Linked DNA regions of Homo sapiens: region 1 is linked to region 2. Evidence: promoter capture Hi-C in 16 types of primary human blood cells and fetal thymus (Javierre and others, 2016). All regions are on one chromosome and are shown on one strand. The core of a region is centred on a gene start or on the middle of the fragment in contact, and the rest is flanking DNA. Distances in the headings are between cores, read along the strand shown. Region 1 overlaps SMYD4 (SET and MYND domain containing 4). Region 2 holds the start of SERPINF2 (serpin family F member 2).

Region 1 (6,371 bases), core at 125-2,624, 41 kb before region 2:
ACCTGTAGTCCCAGCTACTCGGGAGACTGAGGCAGGAGAATGGCGTGAACCCGGGAGGCGGAGCTTGGAGTGAGCCGAGATCGCACCACTGCACTCCAGCCTGGAGACCGAGCGAGACTCCATCTCAAAAAAAAGAAATGTTTGTCATCTAAAGTCCTGGCCCCAAAAAGCGACAAGAGGGGCTATAGAAGTGGAAAGAAATTGTGCACTGTACCAGTTCTGTTCCAAAAATGAAATCTCAGGTGGGATCAGCTACTGCTGATACACTTCATTAGAATTGCCGCCATTGCCGCCATCAAACAAAATTCGCTCAGACTTTCGTCACGATGTATTGTTACAGGAGTCTCTTTCCCCCATGAGGTAAGAAACTATGGAGCAGTCCTGTAATGTAAGCACAGGCGGTGTTGATAACTGACCCTGGCATTGGAATAAAGAGAAAACTGACTTCCACAGGGAGATGACGTGCTGCGCTGTGGCAGCAGATCTTGTGCAGAATCCGCCGTCAGCAGGGACCACCTGGTCTCTCGGTTACAGGACCTACAGCAGCAGGTCAGAGTGGCCCAGAAGCTTCTCAGAGATGGTGAACTAGGTGAGACTGGCTCCCTGCTTTGGTCCTCCAGCCCCTTCCCTTTTATTTGTTCTGATACCGTTTTGGACTCAGGGATACTCAGTACTGATGGGAGAATTGGATGTAATTATCCCCATGCCAGCCACAAGATGGCTATATAGGCCAGTGAGTCCAAACCCTGACCAGCTTTGTTACTGTGGGGCCCTTGAAAAGGGGCCAGGTGATTTCAGCTGTTGTTTTCTTCTGCATCTGATTGCTAAGTTGAAGTACCCCTGCCAACTAACGGGTCATCGCTGACATCCGTGAGCTGTGTGCAGTTCCAGAAGTTGAGTGTCATTTATTTTAATTCCAGGGCCTAGTGATGTAACTTCCTAGAAGGGCGGTTCTTCCCTCCTCAGAGCTAGTCTCTGCTAGAGAGCAGTGGGGCGTGAGCCCAGCTGATAGGAGTGTCTTGCTTTTGTCTGAGACTTGCGGAGCTCCCCATTGCCCTTGAAAACCCTGCCTTAGAGCTTGACATCATGGGATTTTTATTTACCCTGCTTTATGAAAGTTGACCTTTAGCTTAGATTTCAGGGTCAAGAGAAATCATGGCCGTACGTGAAAGGTAGAGTTGGTCGAGTTGGGAAGTTAATGTTGAAAATACAGTGTAAATGTGGGGAGGCCTCCCCTAGCGCCTTTCTCCACTGACAGAGAAAACAGAAGAAAACAGCAGCTTTATTGGAACAGACATTGTGCGTTGGTGACAACCCAGGGAGGCCAGGGGGAATTTCCACATTCAGCCCAGCTGATTCAGAGGATTTGAGACCTGGATTCTCATTCCTAGGACTGGGCTTCTGTCTATAGTGAGACGTCTTTCCTCTGCATTGACAGAGCGAGCTGTTCAGCGGCTGTCGGGGTGCCAGCGTGACGCCGAGAGCTTCCTGTGGGCAGAGCACGCCGTGGTGGGAGAGATCGCGGATGGCCTGGCCCGGGCCTGTGCTGCCTTAGGTACAGCATGAGCCTTCACGTTCTGCGTCGGGAACAGTCTGCTGTGGGCACTTCGCCGTGGCCCCGGCCTTGTCTGCCTGGTTACCCCCCGCTCTGTAAACTGAGGGTGCTCCCCCTCTCGTTCCATTTCCTCCCCCTGAAAATATGCATCCACAGTTGACAGTGGTTCTTTTCTGGAACAAGATTTTTCTCTTCTCACAGGAGACTGGCAAAAGTCAGCCACCCATCTACAGAGGAGTCTCTACGTGGTGGAGGTTCGCCACGGGCCGTCCAGTGTTGAAATGGGCCATGAGCTCTTCAAATTGGCCCAGATCTTTTTCAACGGGTGAGTCCCTTTCCCACTTCACAGGGCACACACTGTTCCTTTCCTAGGCTCTTCTGGGTATTACTTTTTTTCTATGGTGTTTTTAAAAGCATGTTGAAACTTCTTTATTTCCTCTTTAGGAGAGATCTTTGCCTTCTGTTTTGCTAACAAACATAACGCTTTAGAATTTCCTCCTGGGAGGCGGAGCTTGCAGTGAGCCAAGATCGCGCCACTGCACTGTAGCCTGGGCGACAGAGCGAGACTCCATCTCAAAAAAAAAAAAAAAAAGAATTTCCTCCTGGGAGATATGGGGAAAGCTTTTAGATCTCAAGTGAGTTTCCCAGAGAGAACTTGGCCAGGCAGCCCCACCCACCCTCCAGTATAGCTCTCCTTCTGGTTGTTCTCTGGTTCGTCACAGCCCCTTTGGCTGTCTCATTCCCAGCACTCTCAGCTCCAGGCTCTCTGCCTTCTCCCTACTCTGCATCCTCTTCCTTTTAAAGCGTTTGCTTGAACCAGGGCTGATTTTACCCCCAGACAACATGTGGCATTGCCTGGAGACTTTTTTTTTTTTTTTTTTGAGAAGGGGTCTTGCTGTCTTGCCCAGGCTGGAGTACAGTGGCTCGGTCACAGCTCACTGCTTCCTGCAACTCCTGGGCTCAAGCGATCTCTGGAGACATTTTGGATTGTCATGACTTGGAAGGGGGGTGCTGCTGGCATCTATTCGAAAGAGGCCAGAGGTGCTGCTAAGCATCCTCCCGGGTACAAGACAGTGCCCCCCCCACCAACCCCAGCAAAGAAGGAGCCAGCAACAGTGTCAATAGTGTCAGGGTCGAGAAACCCTGCTTTTTTGCTGCTGTTGTTTGTTTTTTGTTTTAAATCCCCTGTTCTACTTTGAAGGTTAAAAGGAAAGAACAGCACGCTGATGAGCTGATGCCAAATCCACTTTTGCTACTGAGACCATTTAGGGCCCAATTTCAGGATTTCCGGGTGGAACCTCCAACCCTGGTAAAGCTGCCCTTGGTGTATGTGGCTATGAGAAAGTGCTTAAAGCTTCAACCTAAGGCTGTGCTGAGTGGGCCTGGTACCCAAGACACAGAGACATTCTGTTTGGTCAGAGAGAGAGAAAAGGGCTGCAGAGTTAGGTCAGAGGTCAGCCCTAAGATGGTCACCCTAAAATGAAAACTGCTATGTAAACCTGTGGTAAATACCAGATGAAAACTTTGAGGCCGGGTGTGGTAGCTCACGCCTGTAATCCAGCTGCCCAGGAGGTTGAGGCAGGAGAATCACTTGAACCCGGGAGGCGGAGGTTGCAGTGAGCCGAGGTCGCACAAATACCTGGGCGACAAGAGTGAAACTCTTGTCTCAAAAAAAAAAAAAAAAGCTTTGAGATTTGCCTCGTGTTCTCAGGATCCTGGCGTCTATACTATCTTTTATAACTGTTTTCTCACACTTTTGTTTTGCAGCGTGTTTGTGACAGTGTCTTACTTACTGTTCTAGATTGTAGGATCCTTGATGACAGAAATGATCTTACATTCTTCACGGTGTGTGAGTAGGCCCTCAATTAACATTTGCCTCACAAATCAGTGAACTAACTCCTCTTACCTCCCTTGGCTCAGGTTTGCAGTACCCGAAGCCCTGAGCACAATACAGAAAGCTGAGGAGGTTCTGTCGCTGCACTGTGGCCCATGGGACGATGAAATCCAGGAGCTCCAGAAGATGAAATCCTGTTTGTTGGACTTACCACCCACCCCTGTAGGGCCTGCATTGTAGGGTTCCAGGAGGATTTTGACCCACAGAAAAGGAGCCCATGGAACACAAGTTAAAGAGGTTTTGCTGGCCAGGTATGGTGGCTCACGCCTGTAATCCCAGCACTTTGGGAGGCTAAGGTGGGCGGATCACCTGATGTCAGGAGTTCAAGACCAGCCTGGCCAACATGGTGAAACCCCATCTTTACTAAAAATACAAAAAACTAGCCAGGCGTGGTGGTGGGCACCTGTAATCCCAGCTACTTGGGAGGCTGAGGCAGGAGAATCTCTTGAACCCAGGAGGCGGAGGTTGCAGTGAGCCGAGATCGCTCCACTGCACTCCAGCCCAGGTGACAGTGTGAGACTCCATCTCAAAAAAAAAAATAAGAGGCCGGGTGCGGTGGCTCAAGCCTGTAATCCCAGCACTTTGGGAGGCCGAGGCAGGCAGATCACGAGGTCAGGAGATCCAGACCATCCTGGCTAACACGGTGAAACCCCGTCTCTACTAAAAATACAAAAAAATTAGTCGGGCGTGGTGGCGGACGCCTGTATTCACAGCTACTCGGGAGGTTGAGGCAGGAGAATGGGGTGAACCCGGGAGGAAGAGCTTGCAGTGAGCCGAGATCGCGCCACTGCACTCCAGCCTGGGTGACAGAGCCAGACTCCATCTCAAAGAAAAAAAAAAAATATTAAGAGGTTCTGCTGCCAGATGTGGGTTCTGTGGGTCGGGTGTGGGTTCTGTGGGTCGGGTGTGGGTTCTGCAGACCAGGTGCGGATTCTGTGTAGGTTCTGCAGGCCCAGTGTAGAGGCTCACACCTGTAATCCCAGTACTTTGAGACGCTGAGGTGGGAGGATCACTTGAGCCCAGGAGTTCAAAACCAGCCTGGGCAATATAGTGAGACCGTATCACTACAAAAAAGTTTTTTTAGTTCACCGAGCATGGTGGCACATGCCTGTAGTCCCACCTACTCGAGAAGCTGAGATAGGGTCACCTGAGCCTGGTAGGCTGAGGCTGCAGTGAGCCAAGATCGCACTACTGCACTCCAGCCTGGGTGACAGAGTAAGACCCTGTCTCAACAAAAAAATAACAGGTTCTGTTGCTGCTGAGCTTTCGTCAGGAAGATAAGACTTTCCCAACAGTCCGAAGCCTAGGATATGAGGGCTGAGGAGGACTCAAACCGTTGCAGTCAGAGAGACACCTATTTTGGTGAATATTTTTTGAAATAGTTAAGTGGCCTCCAGTACAAACTCCCAGTTCCCAGAAAAGACTTAAAACTAGTATCTGGAGATTCCAAGTCCTTTAAAAGGATTTTAGCTGATCTGCAGGCATCTGGATGTTAGCCTGGGGTTTTGGCTGGATTCCACCTCGCTCAGTGATGATAGTCTGTTTCCCTGGAACATTCCTGTGGTTTTAGTAGTAATGAGATGTGTGCACCACTCCAGTGGGAACTGAAGCTCTTAGTAGTTACATTGTAATTAAAAAAGAATTATAAAACAAGAAATCAGCAAGCCTGCTTACCTCCAGAGACACACCGTTCCACTTACAGTATCTAGCTTCCTCGACTCCTTTGTTAAAATCGTGGAGTATGAACCGTGACCAGAGAAGTAAATATGGAGCCGTTTTATTGAGCAGTTTCCTCCAGGGATGACGGCTGTCAGTGTGTTTCCTGCCAGTTTTCCAGTCCTTACTCTCTGCCCTTCATTCTGTACTCTTGGCAGAGTCAGTAACCAACCACTAATAAAATCAAAGTTGTAGTAAAGACTTTATAACACATATGCCTCCTTCTGAGTTGTTGGTTTTGTTTTGTTTTGTTTTGTTTTGTTTTGTTTTTGAGATGGAGTTTCACTCTTGTTGCCCAGGCTGGAGCGCAATGGCGCGATCTTGGCTTACGGCAACCTCCGCCTTCCGGGTTCAAGTGATTCTCCTGCTTCAGCCTCCCGAGTAGCTGGGATTACAGGCGCCCGCCACCACGCCTGGCTAATTTTGTATTTTTAGTAGAGACGGGATTTCACTATGTTGGTCAGGTTGGTATCAAACTCCCGGCCTTAGGTGATTTGGCCTCCCAAAGTGCTGGGATTACAGGCGTGAGCCCGGCCCTTTTTTTTTTTTTTTCTTTTTTTCTTAAGACAGAGTCTCCCTCTGTCACCAAGGCTGGAGTACAGTGGCACAGTCTTGGTTCACCGCAACCTCTGCCTCCCAGGTTCAAGCGATTCTCCTGCCTCAGCCTCCCGAGAAGCTGGCATTACAGGCATTCGCCAGTACGCCCGGCTAATTTTGTATTTTTAGTAAAGATGGGATTTCTCCATGTTGGCCAGGCTGGTCTTGAGCTCCCGACCTCAGGTGATCCGCCCGCTTCGGCCTCCCACAGTGCTGGGATGACAGGCGTGAGCCACCGCGCCCGGCCCTGAGTTCTATTTGTTGTCAAGCCTGAAAAGAGACTCCTTTTCTCCACCAGACCTCTCCAAACTGGCGAGTAGAATACAGACAGTATGAGAACTGGAGGCTGCAGGGGATTCTAACAATGCTGAGGGTATGGACGTTGCTGTTTGTGGTTCAGATTTAAGAGACAGAAGGCAGAAGGTAGGGATGATAGCTGCCTTCCACCAGGATGTGTAGCGACAGCCCAGACCCCGTTCCAGTCAGAAGGTTACGGGATTCTCTAGGTCGGAACCCTGGTTGCTGTGTTACCACTGGTGCCAAGTAGTTGAGGTGCATTCGTGGAAAAGAATGCCAGATCCACGCTGCTTTTGAAAGCTTGCCCACCCT
Region 2 (6,324 bases), core at 829-3,328:
CGCCCGCCAGGGAATCCTACCCACGCGATCACAGATAACGCCAAGTCCTGGGTCATGATTGCCAAGGGGAAGAAGCAGGCTCCAGAATCAGAACAGACCCCAAACACACGAGCAGCGGCTCCCACTCCTGCAGCTGGGACATCCGCCCTGGCTTCTCCCCCTTTTTAGTTTCTGGTGTTTCATATTTCATGCATTTCATGCACTGAGGGTGTTTTGGTGAATAGGAGGGAGATACCAAATCAAAAACGTTCTCATTCTACAAGGCCCTGCGCTGTGAATCAGATCTGTGTCTGAATCCAGGCTACCTCTTGCCAAAGGACCTCGGCATTTCCCGTAACTCCACCAGGCTTGGCCTTACCTTGTAAAACGGTGGCACAAGTCCCTCACTCTTCTCACATGCATGGTGAGGACCAAAATAAGACCGTCTTTTTGGGATTTTTTGTTGTTTATTTTTTGAGACGGAGTTTCGCTCTCGTTGACCAGGCTGGAGTGCAGTGGCAGGATCTCGGCTCACCGCAACCTCCACCTCCCAGGTTCAAGCGATTCTCCTGCTTCAGCCTCCCGAATAGCTGGGATTACAGGCATGCACCACCACGCCTGGCTAATTCTGTATTTCTTAGTAGAAACGGGGTTTCTCTGTGTTAGTCAGGCTGGTCTTAAACTCCCGACCTCAGGTGATCCTCCTGCCTCGGCCTCCCAAAGTACTGGGATTACAGGCATGAGCCACTGCACCCGGCAAAAGACCATCTTTGTGGCCAGGCACGGTGGCTCAAGCCTGTAATCCCAGCACTTTGGGAGGCCAGGGGCAGGTGGATCACCTGAGGTCGGGAGTTCAAGACCAGCCTGGCCAACATGGTAAAACCCCATCTCTACTGAAAATACAAAATTAGCCAGGCGTGGTGGTGGGCCCCTGTAATCCCAGCTACTCGGGAGGCTGAGGCAGAGAACTGCTTGAACCCGGGAGGCGGAGGTTGCAGTGAGCCGAGATCACGCCACTGCACTCCAGCCTGGGCGACAGAGCAAGACTCTGTCTCAAAAAAATAAATAAGACCATCTTTGTAAACCCTGAGTACAATGCTTGGCACTCCCCCGATGGCTGGGGTCAGCTTGGCTCAAGGCCACCTCTTCTGGGAAGCCTGCCCTGAAGCCTCCACCGCAGAGCTCCAACACAGAGCTCCTACCCAGCCTGCTGCATCCATTTAGCCTGTCTTTTTTTTTTTTTTTTTTTTTTTTGAGATGGAGTTTCATTCTTATCATGCAGGCTGGAGTGCAATGGCACGATCTCGGCTCACTGCAACCTCCACCTCCTGGGTTAAAGCGATTCTCCTGCCTCAGCCTCCCGAGTAGCTGGGATTACAGGCATGTGCCACCATGCCTGGCTAATTTTGTATTTTTAGTAGAGACAGGGTTTCTCCATGTTGGTCAGGCTGGTCTCGAACTCCTGACCTCAGGTGATCCACCTGCCTCAGCCTCCCAAAGTGCTGGGATGACAGGCATGAGCCACCACGCCTGGCCCCAACCCGTCTTTCTCAGGCTGGTCAGGTCTTGCCCACAAGGCTGGACATACCTGTGAGGCCCTGAGGTCTCACCATGGGTGGCAAGGCAGCCAGAGAGCTGCCTTTTGACCCAGCAGCAGAGCCCAGTGAATGACTCTGGCCAGAGCCACCTCTGCACTTAGGAGCATCACAGGCCTCTGCTCCAGGCTGGCTCTGGGAAGGGCAGGTGTTGGTCTCAGGAGGATAAGTCAGAGCAGGTCTCAGCTACCTCCAGCCCACCCCCATCTTGGGGCCAACCCTTCTGGAGGATCCTTTGGTCCCCCCGGCCCCACCCCCATCCCACACAAGAGCCCTTGGCCAGGGCCCCGACTCCGACCTGGGCATTAGAATCTTCTTGCCAAGAACAGGCTCCAGTTTTTCAAGTCCCAGAAGAGGCTGGGGAGTGACAGGCCTCCTGAATAAATCCCAGACCCCTCAGCCAGGGAGGCAGCTCCCTCCTCCTCTCCTACCCAAGGAGCAGGCCGAGCAGCCCCTCCCCTCATACCTCTGCGGGCTCCTTGCTGCCACACACAACGTTCCTCTGGCCCCACTTGGGTGCTCCTCACTCTCTGCCCAGGCTCCAGCTGGCCCAGCCCACCCCTCCCCTCCCACCAGGACCTTTACTCTCAGCCAACCCCTGTTCAGATTGCTTTCTCTTCTGGTAAATATTGACTTGCACATCCAGTTAAACATTGATCTTGAAGCCAGAAGCCCCTTTCCCACCAGGGCATCTAACCCTGAGGCAGCCACGCAGAACCCCCTATATTTGGGTCCCCCCCCCCGAGCCTGGAAAGAGAAAGTTCAGGAGGAGAGAGTTGAAGAGACTGGATCTGGCTAGCCAAGAGGGCGGATCCAGAAAGCACAGGAACCTAGCACTGTGTTAAGCCTTCCAGAGACCCCACGAGGTGTGGATTATCCCTGGTTCAGCCAGGCTCAGAGAGGCCATGTGACCTGCCCAAGGACACAGAGCTGGGCTGAGGCACATCCAGATTCTCACTCCCAATGTCCTTTCTTCTCCCAGAGAGCTGCCTCCCGCTCCTGAGGGGAGGAAAGGGGAAGCCACAAGAGCCTATGCAGAGAGCCCAGGATAGGAAGCCCACCCCCAACCTTCCAAGCCCAGGATCAGGTTGGCTGCCTTCAGACTGGGATGGAAGGCAGGGGGTGAGGGAGGAGAAATGAGAGGGACTCAACTTCTCCCACCGTCCTGCCACTCCAGAGCAATGTCTCTTTCCCCTACCCAAGAGCGAGGGTTCTGGAAACTGACCTGGGGCTGTATGAACCAGAAGCCTGGCAGCCCGTGCAAAGATCAGGCTGCTTCCCACCCTCACTGTCCGGCTCCTCACTCCCTGCATCAGGCTCCTTCCCACCCTCACTGTCCTGCTCCTCACTCCCTGTATCAGGCCCCTTCCCACCCTCACTGTCCTGCTCCTCACTCCCTGCATCAGGCCGCTTCCCGCCCTCACACCTGCTCCTCACTCCCTGCATCAGGCTCCTTCCCACCCTCACTGTCCGGCTCCTCACTCCCTGCATCAGGCTCCTTCCCACCCTCACTGTCCGGCTCCTCACTCCCTGCATCAGGCTCCTTCCCACCCTCACTGTCCTGCGCCTCACTCCCTGCATCGGGCCACTTCCCACCCTCACTGTCCTGCTCCTCACTCCCTGCATCAGGCCGCCTCCCACCCTCACTGTCCGGCTCCTCACTCCCTGCATCAGGCCGCCTCCCACCCTCACTGTCCTGCTCCTCACTCCCTGCATCAGGCTCCTTCCCACCCTCACTGTCCTGCGCCTCACTCCCTGCATCAGGCCACTTCCCACCCTCACTGTCCTGCTCCTCACTCCCTGCATCAGGCTCCTTCCCATCCTCACTGTCCAGCTCCTCACTCCCTGCATCAGGCTCCTTCCCACCCTCACTGTCCGGCTCCTCACTCCCTGCATCAGGCTCCTTCCCACCTTCACTGTCCTGCTCCTCACTCCCTGCATCAGGCTCCTTCCCACCCTCACTGTCCTGCGCCTCACTCCCTGCATCAGGCTCCTTCCCACCCTCACTGTCTTGCGCCTCACTCCCTGCATCAGGCCCCTTCCCACCTTCACTGTCCTGCGCCTCACTCCCTGCATCAGGCTCCTTCCCACCCTCACTGTCCGGCTCCTCACTCCCTGCATCAGGCCCCTTCCCACCCTCACTGTCCTGCGCCTCACTCCCTGCATCAGGCCCCTTCCCACCCTCACTGTCCTGCGCCTCACTCCCTGCATCAGGCTCCTTCCCACCCTCAGTGTCCGGCTCCTCACTCCCTGCATCAGGCCCCTTCCCACCCTCACTGTCCTGCGCCTCACTCCCTGCATCAGGCCCCTTCCCACCCTCACTGTCCTGCGCCTCACTCCCTGCATCAGGCTCCTTCCCACCCTCACTGTCCGGCTCCTCACTCCCTGCATCAGGCCCCTTCCCACCCTCACTGTCCTGCGCCTCACTCCCTGCATCAGGCCCCTTCCCACCCTCACTGTCCTGCGCCTCACTCCCTGCATCAGGCCACTTCCCACCCTCACTGTCCTGCGCCTCACTCCCTGCATCAGGCCACTTCCCACCCTCACTGTCCTGCGCCTCACTCCCTGCATCAGGCTCCTTCCCACCCTCACTGTCCTGCGCCTCACTCCCTGCATCAGGCTCCTTCCCACCCTCACTGTCCTGCGCCTCACTCCCTGCATCAGGCCGCCTCCCACCCTGACTGTCCTGCTCCTCACTCCCTGCATCAGGCTCCTTCCCACCCTCACTGTCCTGCGCCTCACTCCCTGCATCAGGCCGCCTCCCACCCTCACTGTCCTGCGCCTCACTCCCTGCATCAGGCTCCTTCCCACCCTCACTGTCCGGCTCCTCACTCCCTGCATCAGGCTCCTTCCCACCCTCACTGTCCGGCTCCTCACTCCCTGCATCAGGCCGCCTCCCACCCTCACTGTCCTGCTCCTCACTCCCTGCATCAGGCTCCTTCCCACCCTCACTGTCCTGCGCCTCACTCCCTGCATCAGGCCCCTTCCCACCCTCACTGTCCTGCGCCTCACTCCCTGCATCAGGCTCCTTCCCACCCTCACTGTCCGGCTCCTCACTCCCTGCATCAGGCTCCTTCCCACCCTCACTGTCCTGCGCCTCACTCCCTGCATCAGGCCACTTCCCACCCTCACTGTCCTGTGCCTCACTCCCTGCATCAGGCTCCTTCCCACCCTCACTGTCCTGCGCCTCACTCCCTGCATCAGGCTCCTTCCCACCCTCACTGTCCTGCGCCTCACTCCCTGCATCAGGCCGCCTCCCACCCTCACTGTCCTGCTCCTCACTCCCTGCATCAGGCTCCTTCCCACCCTCACTGTCCTGCGCCTCACTCCCTGCATCAGGCCGCCTCCCACCCTCACTGTCCTGCGCCTCACTCCCTGCATCAGGCTCCTTCCCACCCTCACTGTCCGGCTCCTCACTCCCTGCATCAGGCCACCTCCCACCCTCACTGTCCTGCTCCTCACTCCCTGCATCAGGCTCCTTCCCACCCTCACTGTCCGGCTCCTCACTCCCTGCATCAGGCTCCTTCCCACCCTCACTGTCCTGCGCCTCACTCCCTGCATCAGGCCCCTTCCCACCCTCACTGTCCTGCGCCTCACTCCCTGCATCAGGCTCCTTCCCACCCTCACTGTCCTGCGCCTCACTCCCTGCATCAGGCCGCCTCCCACCCTCACTGTCCTGCGCCTCACTCCCTGCATCAGGCCACTTCCCACCCTCACTGTCCTGCTCCTCACTCCCTGCATCAGGCTCCTTCCCACCCTCACTGTCCTGCGCCTCACTCCCTGCATCAGGCTCCTTCCCACCCTCACTGTCCTGCGCCTCACTCCCTGCATCAGGCTCCTTCCCACCCTCACTGTCCTGCGCCTCACTCCCTGCATCAGGCCGCTTCCCGCCCTCACACCTGCTCCTCACTCCCTGCATCAGGCCACTTCCCACCCTCACTGTCCTGCTCCTCACTCCCTGCATCAGGCTCCTTCCCACCCTCACTGTCCGGCTCCTCACTCCCTGCATCAGGCTCCTTCCCACCCTCACTGTCCTGCTCCTCACTCCCTGCATCAGGCTCCTTCCCACCCTCACTGTCCTGCGCCTCACTCCCTGCATCAGGCTCCTTCCCACCCTCACTGTCCTGCGCCTCACTCCCTGCATCAGGCCGCCTCCCACCCTCACTGTCCGGCTCCTCACTCCCTGCATCAGGCTCCTTCCCACCCTCACTGTCCTGCGCCTCACTCCCTGCATCAGGCTCCTTCCCACCCTCACTGTCCTGCGCCTCACTCCCTGCATCAGGCTCCTTCCCACCCTCACTGTCCTGCGCCTCACTCCCTGCATCAGGCTCCTTCCCACCCTCACTGTCCTGCGCCTCACTCCCTGCATCAGGCTCCTTCCCACCCTCACTGTCCTGCGCCTCACTCCCTGCATCAGGCTCCTTCCCACCCTCACTGTCCTGCGCCTCACTCCCTGCATCAGGCTCCTTCCCACCCTCACTGTCCTGCGCCTCACTCCCTGCATCAGGCCGCCTCCTACCCTCACTGTCCTGCTCCTCACTCCCTCCATCAGGCCCCTTCCCACCCTCACTGTCCTGGAAACTGCTGGGTCTCGACTTTCCCCACCCTGACACCACCAGCAAGATAAGCCTCAGGCTGGGCGTGGTGGCTCATGCCTGTAATCCCAACACTTTGGGAGGCCGAGGCAGGAGGATCGCTTGAGCCCAGGAGTTGGAGACCAGCTTGGGCAACATAGTCAGACTCCATCTCT

What was found. Contacts are between HindIII fragments. The CHiCAGO score rates a contact against its expected background, and 5 or more counts as called.
Region 1: a contact is called between a fragment that was not itself captured here and the fragment with the promoter of SERPINF2 in region 2, in 3 of 17 cell types (M0 macrophages, M1 macrophages and M2 macrophages). The highest score is 7.1, in M0 macrophages.

Annotation. Positions count from the first base shown.
Region 1 is chr17:1,778,544-1,784,914 of GRCh38, reverse strand. SMYD4 (SET and MYND domain containing 4) reads left to right here. Exons shown (of 11, transcript NM_052928.3): 8 at 454-589; 9 at 1,439-1,555; 10 at 1,757-1,880; 11 at 3,476-5,430. The coding sequence ends at 3,629. Among named protein-coding and RNA genes, the nearest start is that of SERPINF1, 20 kb to the right of the region's middle. RefSeq lists an enhancer at 766-1,060. The HindIII fragment of the contact is 1,609 bases long and covers 570-2,178 here.
Region 2 is chr17:1,738,625-1,744,948 of GRCh38, reverse strand. It overlaps SERPINF2 (serpin family F member 2), which reads right to left and starts at 2,078. Exons shown (of 10, transcript NM_000934.4): 1 at 2,041-2,078. The HindIII fragment of the contact is 21,208 bases long and covers 1-6,324 here.